2 separate regions of the Homo sapiens genome follow, and region 1 is linked to region 2. Evidence: promoter capture Hi-C in human tissues and cell types (Jung and others, 2019). All regions are on one chromosome and are shown on one strand. Each heading gives the region's core, a stretch centred on a gene start or on the middle of the fragment in contact. The rest is flanking DNA. Distances are from core to core; before and after follow the strand shown. Region 1 has its middle 21 kb from the start of LINC02204. Region 2 holds the start of UACA (uveal autoantigen with coiled-coil domains and ankyrin repeats).

Region 1 (5,129 bases), core at 1,385-3,884, 200 kb before region 2:
TCAATGTTCATCATGATTAGAACTTAATTCCTGCCAGCTCCTTGTAAACACAGCCCTCTAGGGAGGATGGAGCTGGCTCTTCCCACCTGGCCTTGGAGAAATCTGCTTCTCTTCAGAATCTGAGCACAGCAGCTAAAGAACTTCCTTCCAGATGTGGAACCGTCAGGACCCTCACCCCCTTCTGCTGCAGAAAGGTCTAATCTGGGCAGGTTTTGAAATCTCAGCACTGCTGAGATCTGGGGCTGGATGATTCTTTGTGGTAGAGGGACTTTGTGTGCATTGCAGGATGTTCAGCAGCATCCCTGGCCTCTGCTCACTAGATACCAGTAGCACTCCCTCCCCAGTTGTAACAACCAAAAGCATTTCCAGACATTATAAAATGGGGAGCAATGACCTTTGACTGAGAACCACTGGCCTAGGCCTGTCCAAGCTGCTTTACATGGCTCTCATGGCCCACTGTGGCGTGGCCACTGCCTTCCAGCTTCAGCACTTACCTCTGTGGCCAGGTTGTGCTGAACTACTCTGAGCTTCCAGCAGCATGCGCCAGACAGTCCACAGAGCCCCAGGTGCCTGCCATGCCCGGAGCATCCCTGTGTGTCAAGCGGCTATAGATCTCGTGGCCACCAGCAAATGGACCAGGATCTCCACCCTGGACTTGCCTCCTATGTCATCCCCTAATCAAGTCAGGGCACTTCAATTGTATGGTGACTCCCCATCCCTGACCAGGGTTGCTCTCTGGGTTTGGAGGATTGGAGCAGGATGTCATGGAAACAGGATACTGGGAAGAAAACCAGGAGAGAAGCAAATGCAGCATGGATGGCATGGGAGGCAGAAGCTTCCTAGAATCGACAAGATGGCCAGTCCACCCCATCAGCCCCTTCCACATTGTCTACAGAGGCAATAGGCCACTTTTTCAATCACGCATTTTGTTGTTGTTCTTGTTGTTTGAGTCAGGGTCTCACTCTGTTGACCAGGCTAGGGTACAGTGGCATGATCATAGCTCACTGCAGCCTTGGTGATTTATCTACCACTATATAGTAACTCAGCTCTGCTTCCAAACTGAGATTTTTGTTTCTGGCATAAACTGGGTGTTATTTTTCAAGGATGTATTCTTATCACCAGATGGGGTCATTTTCTATTTTATTCAAGTCAATCGATAATGAAAAATAAATAAAAACAAAGGACTGAGAAGGCCGTTTTCTTTTTTAAATCTCACTACTTTTTTGGAAGAAACTAATCTATTCCCACTTCCCCTCCAGTCATCACCACCAAATTAATCTTTTTATTTTTTTGATAATGTAGACATATATATAAATAATATAGGTTATATACATTCACATATATTTTAACCAAAATGCAGTTATGCTACATCTTGCTGCAATTTGCTGTTTTATCACTTAACATTTAAACTTTATCTGTGACCCTTTCCAAGTGGGTGCCTCAGGAAACCCACTGCCTCATTCTAATGCCAGCTCTGACTTCTCACAGCTGTGTGACCTCGTGCAGGCTAATAACCTTTCTGGGCCTCTTGTGCATCATGTGGATGACAACATTGCCTACTTCATAAAGTTGTTGAGAGGGTTAAATGAGGTGACATATATAAAACACTCACATCAGTGCCCAGCACAAGACAAATGCTCGGAAAACAGCTCTTACTACACAAGTCTACCTCATTTCTTTCAGAGACTAGAATTTCATTGCCTAGATATTCCTTAATTTATCTGACCCATGTTCTTTGATGGAAATTTAAACTTTTAGAAACTTGGCTCTTAAAATAAGCAGTAATACAGTGAATATCCTTGGACATATATCTTTATACATTTATGCTACAATTTTTGGAGGGTAAATTTCTGGAGGAGAGACCGCCAGATTATTCAGTAAGCACATTTTAGGTTGATACGTCTTTTACTAAATTTCCCTTCGAAGGTGTGTGGCACTTTACCAGCAGTGTGTGTGTGTTGTGTTCATTTCTTCATTCTCACCAGTTCTTTTTAACTGGACAAGCAAAAACTAATGCTGCATTGCTGTTTTCATTTACATTTCTTTAGGCATTAGTGAGGCTATCTTGTAATTGTTTCCTCTTTAATGAAGTGGTTGTATATAACGTGTGTGTGTGTGTGTGTATGTGTGTGTGTTGCCCACTTGTCCATTTTTGCTGTTTCTGATCAATTTGAAGGAATACATTCTATAGTGTGGACATTCACAGTTTTCCTGCTAGAATATGTAGCAAATACTTTCTCCCAGACTGTAATTTATGTTTTGATTTATTTAAGGTACCTTTGACAATACAGTTTGGGTTTTTTTCTTTTTAGGTGGTCCAATCTGCCAAACTTTTCTATTGTGGTTTCTGGGTTTGGTGTTAGATTAAGAAAGGCCTGGTCGGGCGCAGTGGCTCACACCTGTAATCCCAGCACTTCGGGAGGCCGAGGCGGGTGGATCACCTGAGGTCAGGAGTTCGAGACCAGCCTGGCCAACATGGTGAAACTCCGTCTCTACTATAAATACCAAAAATTAGCAGGGCGTGGTGGCAGGCGCCTGTAATCCCAGCTACTCAGGAGGCTGAGCAGGAGAATTGCTTGAACCTGAGAAGCAGAGGTTGCAGTGAGCTGAGATCACACCATTGCACTCCAGCCTGGGCAACAAGAGCAAAACTCCGTCTCAAAAAAAAAAAAAAGAAAGTCCTTTTCCCCACCACTACCCTCCCAAAACACACACACACACACACACACATATACAGTTTGTTAATAATTTTAATGTGCAGTTCTTTAATTTATCTGGGACTTCCTATTGTGCACATTACAAGGTAGATGCCCGATTTTATCCTTTTGCATGTAGATAGTGATTTCTGCCATAGCTCAAAGTGTCTCTAGACTCCAAGTGGCTCCCCTATAGGACTAAGGCTCTCTGAACTTGAGTCGGTCTAGCCTGGGCAGGAAGGTGGGCTGCCGAGGAAGCAGTTCCCTCCCCCGTCCTTCCTCCCTTTCCATTTATTGTATCCAGCGACAGCCAGTGTTGGAGGCTCCTCCACTCAGACAGCAGGGGAGCAAGAGGGCTGCCGAGAGAGCTGTGAACACTACATCACTTGAACACAGCATTACGGGAATGGTCAGAGCCTGAGCTACAGTTGTCCTGGGAACGCAGTAACTTATGTGCCCAGAGAAATCATTTTCCTGGAAGATGCATTTTAGGCAGCACGGAGGCTCAGGTGACCCTTATATCATCTGGTCACAGGTTTCTGTGGATTTACACATGCTGGCTTCCCACAACAGAAAGAAATCTAATTACCGGTGGAATAACTTACAGGTAAGGGGACCTCCAGTGGGCGCCCAGCCTGGCTGTAAATCCTCAGAGCTAGATCCTGAGGAAAGTGAGCTGGTGCTCGGACCTGGACACCTCGCAGCTCAGAGGACAGCCACCACCTCGAACCCGGGGCTGGGTGGGAGAGCAAATGGGTGGCAGAGCACATGTGGGTTTCCAGGGCTTGGAAAGGTAAAGAACATCAGACTGGGCCTCCAAATGCCTGGGCTCTTTCTGCTACTAACTGCCAGGATGACCATAGCTTCTCATTTAACATATTTTCTCAGTTTCCCTGTGCTAGATTATTGGTTAGCAGGTATTAAGCCACATCCCAGGGGCCATGTGATATACTTTAAATACATATCCCCAGTTTGCACAACAGCCCTGGAAAATGAGAATTAGGATTCCCATTTGACATATGTAGAAACAAGATCCGAGAGGTCAAGTGGATTCGTTCAGAGTGACTTTGGAAGAAAGTGGCAGAGCTAAAATTGCAATCCTCTCACCCAAGCCTCACACTGCAGCGTGTTCCACAGGATCCATGTTTGTGAGTGTGGTGGGCAGGGCCCTGTGCTGCTGGGGGACCTTAGAATGTGCATGAGGAAGCTTCCCTGGGCCTCTCACAAAGACCTTGGGGTGACTCCCAGGACTTCTCCCTTCCTTGGCCTCGGCGTGGCCTTCGCTCCAGTGACACGTATACAAGGCAGCCGTGGCCTGGTCTGCACAGTTGCCCGGCATCCTGCTCCAAGGCCTTCTGCCATGCCAAGAACCACATCCTTCTCTGGCTATGCGTAAAGATGAGAGGGCCGGGCACGGTGGCTCATGCCTATAATCCCAACGCTTTGGGAGGCCAAGGTGGGCAGATCATGAGGTCAGGAGTTCGAGACCAGCCTGGCCAACAAAGTGAAACCCTGTCTCTACTAAAGATACAAAAAATTAGCCGGACATGGGGTCATACGCCTGTAATCCCAGCTACCTGGGAGGCTGAGGCAGGAGAATCGCTTGAACCCTGGAGGTGGAGGTTGCAGTGAGCCGAGATCGCGCCATTGCACTCTAGCCTGGGCTATAGAGAAGAGACTCCATCTAAAAAAAAAAAAAAAAATGAAGAGAGTACGCAGGCCTGCCCAAACAGCCCAAACATTGGCAGGGGCCAGGGAAATTGACAAATGGGGACCACATACCATGTGTCTACATGTGTGAGTTACCACTCAGGCTGCCATCTCATAACACATGATGTTCTGCTGCTACCTTGACCCACAAATACCTTCATAACAATTTTAAAGGATGAATAAAGTTGTGGTTTTTAGATACGACTGAAAGTCTTAGCAATATCAAAGATGGATTCAATTATTGTACATGTCTGTGCAGCCCATTGATGGATGGGCTGTTGATATTTGGATGAGTAATAAAATAGAGACATAATCCATATATTATTTCATATTAATATACACTTTTTGCCTTCATTTTAGCAAAGTCTTCAAGTACATTAATCCTTACAAAACTTTGTTCCATTGATAATAATTGTCAAAGATTTAAAAATAAAGTATAACTGTATTCAAAGAGAATAAACTGTGATTATACTTTTATTTTTTAAATATCTTAAAGTTATGTACAAATTGAATATTTTTCAAATATGATTTCAGCAAGTTATTTTTCTTCTAAAATATTCTAAATTGCTATAAAAAGCAAAATATAAATCATAATTAATGGATATGAATATTTTTAACCAAAGGTACTTAAAGCTGAAACAAACATTTAAAATTAGATATTAAATATTTTTATACAAATAAAAATTTACAATTCTAGTATTCAATATATGTTTGCCAATGTTA
Region 2 (5,345 bases), core at 1,658-4,157:
ACAAAAATTAGCCTGGCGTGGTGGTGCACGCCTGTAGTCCCAGCTACTCAGGAGGCTGAGGCAGGAGAATCACTTGAACCTGGGAGGCGGAGGTTGCAATGAGCCAAGATGGTCCCATTGCACTCCAGCCTGGCGACCGAGCGAGACTCCGTCTCAAAAAAAAAAAAAAAACAGAAAAAGAAAAATGGAAAGGATAAACTGTTCTTACCTATCAGGCTAGCAAAGGTCAAAAACTTTGAACAGACTTCTATTAAAAGCTTGGAAAACATTTCTCATATGCTGGTTCCATGATGCATGAAAGGAAACTTGACAACATCCTTCAAAATTACAAATGCACATATCCTTTAACCCAGCAATTCACTTTTAGGAATTAATCCTACAGGTACAGACACACACTTGAAATATGAATATTAATCACAGAATTGTACATTACAGCAAAAGATATGAATGGGGAGCCTCTATTTACAGTTTTAAAAAAAAAAGTCCAAGATATGAAACAGCAGCTACAGTGTGCTAGCATTTCTATAAAGGGTGACTATATTCATATTTGCTTGTATATGCTAAGCTCTCTCTGGAGGAACATGCAAGCAACTGTATCATCAGTGGCCTCAGGAAGTGGGGGCAGGGTGGCTGAAGCAGGGGTTAGGGAAACACGGTGTCGATATTTTGTTGTAAATATTTTTATTCCTTTCCAATATTAAACCATGTGCTATATTACCTATTCAAAAAATAACTGTTTTTAAAGGCAAAAAGAAAAAAAAAAAGGGTGGCCCAATCATACAATAAATACATATACATGTGACCAAATCTGGGATTATGGTTTATAGATTGAAAAGCAGAAAGGGTCTATTTCTCCTGTACATGTGTTTTATTCTATCAATGCTTGGTTTGGTTTTATTCATCACTACAGTTTTATTTTAAAATTTTACAGAATTCATTCTAAGTTTTATTCCTCATTACGCTTTTATTTTTAAATTGTACAGAACTTATTCTAATATTTAAACAGAAATGTTTGCTTTTTCTACATAAATAGGTTAATATCATGTTTATCTTTATTATGTCATTTTGAGAAAAATAGAACGCTCAATTGAGTGCTAAAGATTTAAGCTCAGAGATATGCACTTTATGTTCCAAATGTATAAAATGCAAACTATCATGCTGATAATACCTACTAAATACTCTGCATTTCTAGAAAACTGGATAAAATTAAGGCATATAAACCTCCAAGTGGGATTTACATCCTTAGTGCAAATCAAACACAACCAGGGAAAACAAAGCTAATAAATCTAGAAACTTGTATCTTCTATAAGGCTAAAAACACAACTTGCATTACAGAAGTAGAATCTTAACTGTAATGAACTCCAATATCACTAAATGACATTTCTGCCAGTTACTTTTTTTAAAAAAAAAAGTGAAACAAAGTAATCTCTGTTTTCCATGAGCTTATAAAACGACTTCATGCTTTATCAAAGAACATCAATTACGTCATCTGAATCTACTCTCTTTTTTTGAAATAGGAATTTAAGTCTAGGTAGTTCCTCCACAATTTCCTTTATGTCCAAGTAAAATAATCCTCGATATAGGTGGAGAGAAAGGCATAACTGAATTAACTCAAAAAAGCAGAAGCAGATTAATTAGTATTCTGATAAAAAGAATATAATCATTTGGTAAAATCTGCGTTGAATTGTAAAGGTTCATTTTAATTACCCCAACTAGGTAACTGTGCAGTTGGAGCATAACAACTCCTTTACGTTCGACTCTTCCAAGACTTTGTAAGTGGCACTTATTTTAATGATATAGAATTTTGATGATATCGCCATTCTTGTAACGTGACAAATTATCTAAATCACAACATCTGCGGTCAGGCTGTTTCTCAAGATTTCTGTTCTCCTGCCAACTAAAGAGGCCCCGACTACTCCTTGGCGCGCACACTGAGGCCGCGCTGCAGGTCAGCACCGAAAGAGCCCCGCACGGATCCCGCCCCACAGGTGCGATTTACACAACCCACATCACCACCACCCCTCCCAACTTCACCACCTCTAGGGTCACCACCCTGTGGGGTTTTGTCTTTACGACTAAGCCGATTCCCTCTGCCTCGCTGGGGAATCAAACTTCCCAGTGACAACGACAGCGGCCAGCACGGGACGTCCACCAGCCCGGCAGGGCTTGACGCTGTCTCAGACCCGGGGAAGGTCCGGAGTCCGGGCACGGTGGCGCGGGGTGCGCAGCCCTGCCCACCTGCCCTACCTGGTGCGAGCCCCGGCCCCGGGGACTGGGGAGCCAACACGGCCGAGCGGGCGTGGGCAGCAGGGCGAGCGCCGGGAGAGGAGAGCGACGAGGGGGGGTCAACGGAAAGAGCGGAGTAGGGGTGCCAATCGAGGAACTTTGGATTTAGGAGGAGGGGGCCAGAACCGCCCCACTGAGGTTTCTTCCAGAAGTTCGGAGGCTTGGGAGAAAGGGGTGGGGAAGAGACCCGTAGAGGCTCGGGTGCGGCGGCGGGGAGGATCCCCGGGGTCTCTGGGCTGACGGAGTCTCCGGCCTCAGGGAGGAGTCGCCAGGGCCGCCGAAGCCGAACTGGCAGAGGAAAAGCAGAGGAAGGCGGCGCGCGAACTCGCCAGCAAAGGAGGGCTGCGCTGCTCCCGGAGCGGAGCGCCTCGCAGCCCGGACCGCGGGACTCACCGCGCTGGCGGCGGCGGCGCCAGACGACGCGGGGCCGGGCACGTCCTGCCTCCTCAGGCGGGACTTGAGGCTCTTCATGGCTAACTCTTGCCTGGCCCCCGCGCGAACCTTAAAGGCTGCGGAGTGCCAGCGCGCAAGGAGTAGACGGCAGCGGCTGCAGCAGAGGCGGCGCGGGCTGTACCAGCCCCACCTGCCTGCCACCTGCGGGCCCCGGGCAGCAGACGTCGACAGGCCTGAGGCGGGGCTCCCCTCCCGTAGCCAATTGACCCGCTGCCCTGGCGGGGGCGTGGCAAACCGCGACCAATCGGAATGCGGGAATGGGGCGGGACTTCCCTTTTAAACTGAGTAACACCCTTCCTCTCCCAGCTGGAGGAAAAGTTTGGGAACTTTAGCCCGGGAAGGGGCGGAGGAGGTGGGCGGCCAGAGGCGTGGAGATGCGCGCAGGCCGGGCTCCAGGCCACCGGCGCCCGCCCACCCGGAGCTTAAGATCTAGAGAGAGCACGGGGTCCCGCCTTTGCCACCTCTCATCTTCCCGGACTCCCCTCCTCTTTCCACCCACGCGCTCTTTACCAAGTAAAGTTCCTTCCCTTCCGTCTGGTCTTAGAAATGACTCTTGGTTACCTGCACACAGAACAGCTTTCAGGAGCAACTTCTTTTCAGTCTCCTGTTTTACTACCAAATCCTGGTGCCTGGAAACCACCACACGCATCAAAAATTCCAGAAATAAACAGTCTCTAAGAAATAAGGTGCTGATTGTGCAGAAAAACGTACAGTTAAGAAAGACCTTGAAAGACGTTATAGTAAGTTACAGTACAAGTTACGTGCTCGTTTATTTGTTGAGTGAAGAATCCGCCGTATTGGAAGCAAAGGGACGGAATGGGGGCGGGGAGGGAGGAGAAGAGGTGCCATCAATTAAAAATGACTCCCACAGCCAGTGATTTAAGTTGTCAAAAAAAGTTACGCCCTTTTTTCTTCAAAAAGGTTTTTTGTTTTCTGTAGAAACACATTACATGTAAACGTATACGATGAAGTTAAATCATCTTACCTAGAAATCTGGGTTAGTAAAAATTATTTAAGAGGATGAAGAAACAGGAAGGTGCTCAGCACCCAATAATTTGCTGTTCGGGTGACATCTTCAAAAGTCTTCTTTGGAGTCATTTTTCCCCCCAGCAAAACGTTTATCGTAGCATGCATCCATTTGAAAAGACAAACGGTCCACATTTTCTGACTAACAAAGGACTCTTTTTTGTCTGAAAGGTCAGTTGCTCTCTTTAGAGTTTCTTTATAGTAACGCAAGGTTTTCTTCAAATACTGTAAGAAAGTTTTCAGAATTTCTTGGAGAGGCAGCATTCAAAGACTGTGTTAACCCTATACAACAAGTAAATAACAACTAACTACCCAAAAATATTATTAAATTTCATCTTGATTAGATCTTTGGAAGAAAATTTTCTTTGATTCCTCCCCCTTCCTCTAGATCTCCAGTCATTTAGTTCTTGTTGGCTCTTTAAAGTGTCTGTGTATGGTCAGTTACTCTGTTCTCACTGCCACTGCAGAGCCAAAATTACCTCATACCCGGACTATTATTACAGAAGCTTCCCAGCCAGTCTCCCAACCTTCAGTCTCTTAATTGTCCCATCACCAATAAATTATCAGCCATCATCAATAAGTCTTACAAAAATACTCCTCTTGCTCAAAAGCCTTCAGCAGCTAACGAATAAAATCTAATTCTTTGCATTTAAAGCTGTATAACGTGGACGCGACCCTGTTCTCTAGCCAACACCCCAAGCGAATTACTCTTCAGCCCATTCTCCAAACATGGGTCATGGCTTTCAACTTCCACATCTTTATGCATACTGATCCCTCCCCCAATAATCTTCTGTCTGTCTACATTCATCTCAGAAAATCCTACTCCCCCAAGAGTGATTGGTAGGGGATGTCGGGGGCTTCTGGAATACTGTACTATTCTCTGTGGGTGCTGGTTACATATCTAGTGTTTTCAGATTGTGAAAATTCAATGAGCCTGTACTGTATGCAATATATTCTCTTTTATGTGTGTGTTATGCTTTAACAAAAAGTTTGTTTTTAAGTGTATGTCCCTTCCAAGTGCCCTCCTCTCTATAGAACCTTCCCTGATCAAGTAACTGGAAGTGATCTCTCCATCCTCCAAATAGTTACAGCAATTATACCTCTCATATGATACTAACACATATGAGCTGAGCAAACCTTATTTCATTACTGGACTTCAATTTACTTAAAATTGGGGAATAACTGACATATATTTGAATTCCCTAGAATGCTTAGCATGTTATAGGTGTTTAATAAATATTTCTGAATGAATTGATGCATTCTTATTGACTACTATAGCAAATTATGGTTGTTTGTTCTATGTATTTATGTGACACAGGATTGGGATTCCCCCTATTGTGAACACAGATGGAATGATCTGAGGCTATGGTCCTGCTCAAATATTTGTGTCTCAATCAACTCCTTTCTCTGGGCTTAAGATAAGCACCCATTTACCATCTAGTCCTCTGACTGAATCTTAAATGTTAATTGCTTACAAGAGCACTGTCTCAGTAATTGGCTCTTGAGTTATTAATTGCAGTGTTATGTTGTACTGGTTGTCTCCTGTAACATCCAAGTTATCATAGTCCTGGTGACTGGCC

Evidence for each region. Contacts are between HindIII fragments. The study calls those that stand out against the background at their distance.
Region 1: a fragment that was not itself captured here is called in contact with the fragment with the promoter of UACA in region 2 in 2 of the 25 tissues and cell types used here (mesenchymal stem cells and mesendoderm cells).

Annotation. Positions count from the first base shown.
Region 1 is chr15:70,563,226-70,568,354 of GRCh38, forward strand. No RefSeq gene overlaps it. Among named protein-coding and RNA genes, the nearest start is that of LINC02204, 21 kb to the right of the region's middle. The HindIII fragment of the contact is 4,641 bases long and covers 315-4,955 here.
Region 2 is chr15:70,760,651-70,765,995 of GRCh38, forward strand. UACA (uveal autoantigen with coiled-coil domains and ankyrin repeats) reads right to left here and starts at 2,908. Exons shown (of 19, transcript NM_018003.4): 1 at 2,680-2,908. The coding sequence starts at 2,757. RefSeq lists a silencer at 2,673-3,082. The HindIII fragment of the contact is 5,114 bases long and covers 1-4,928 here.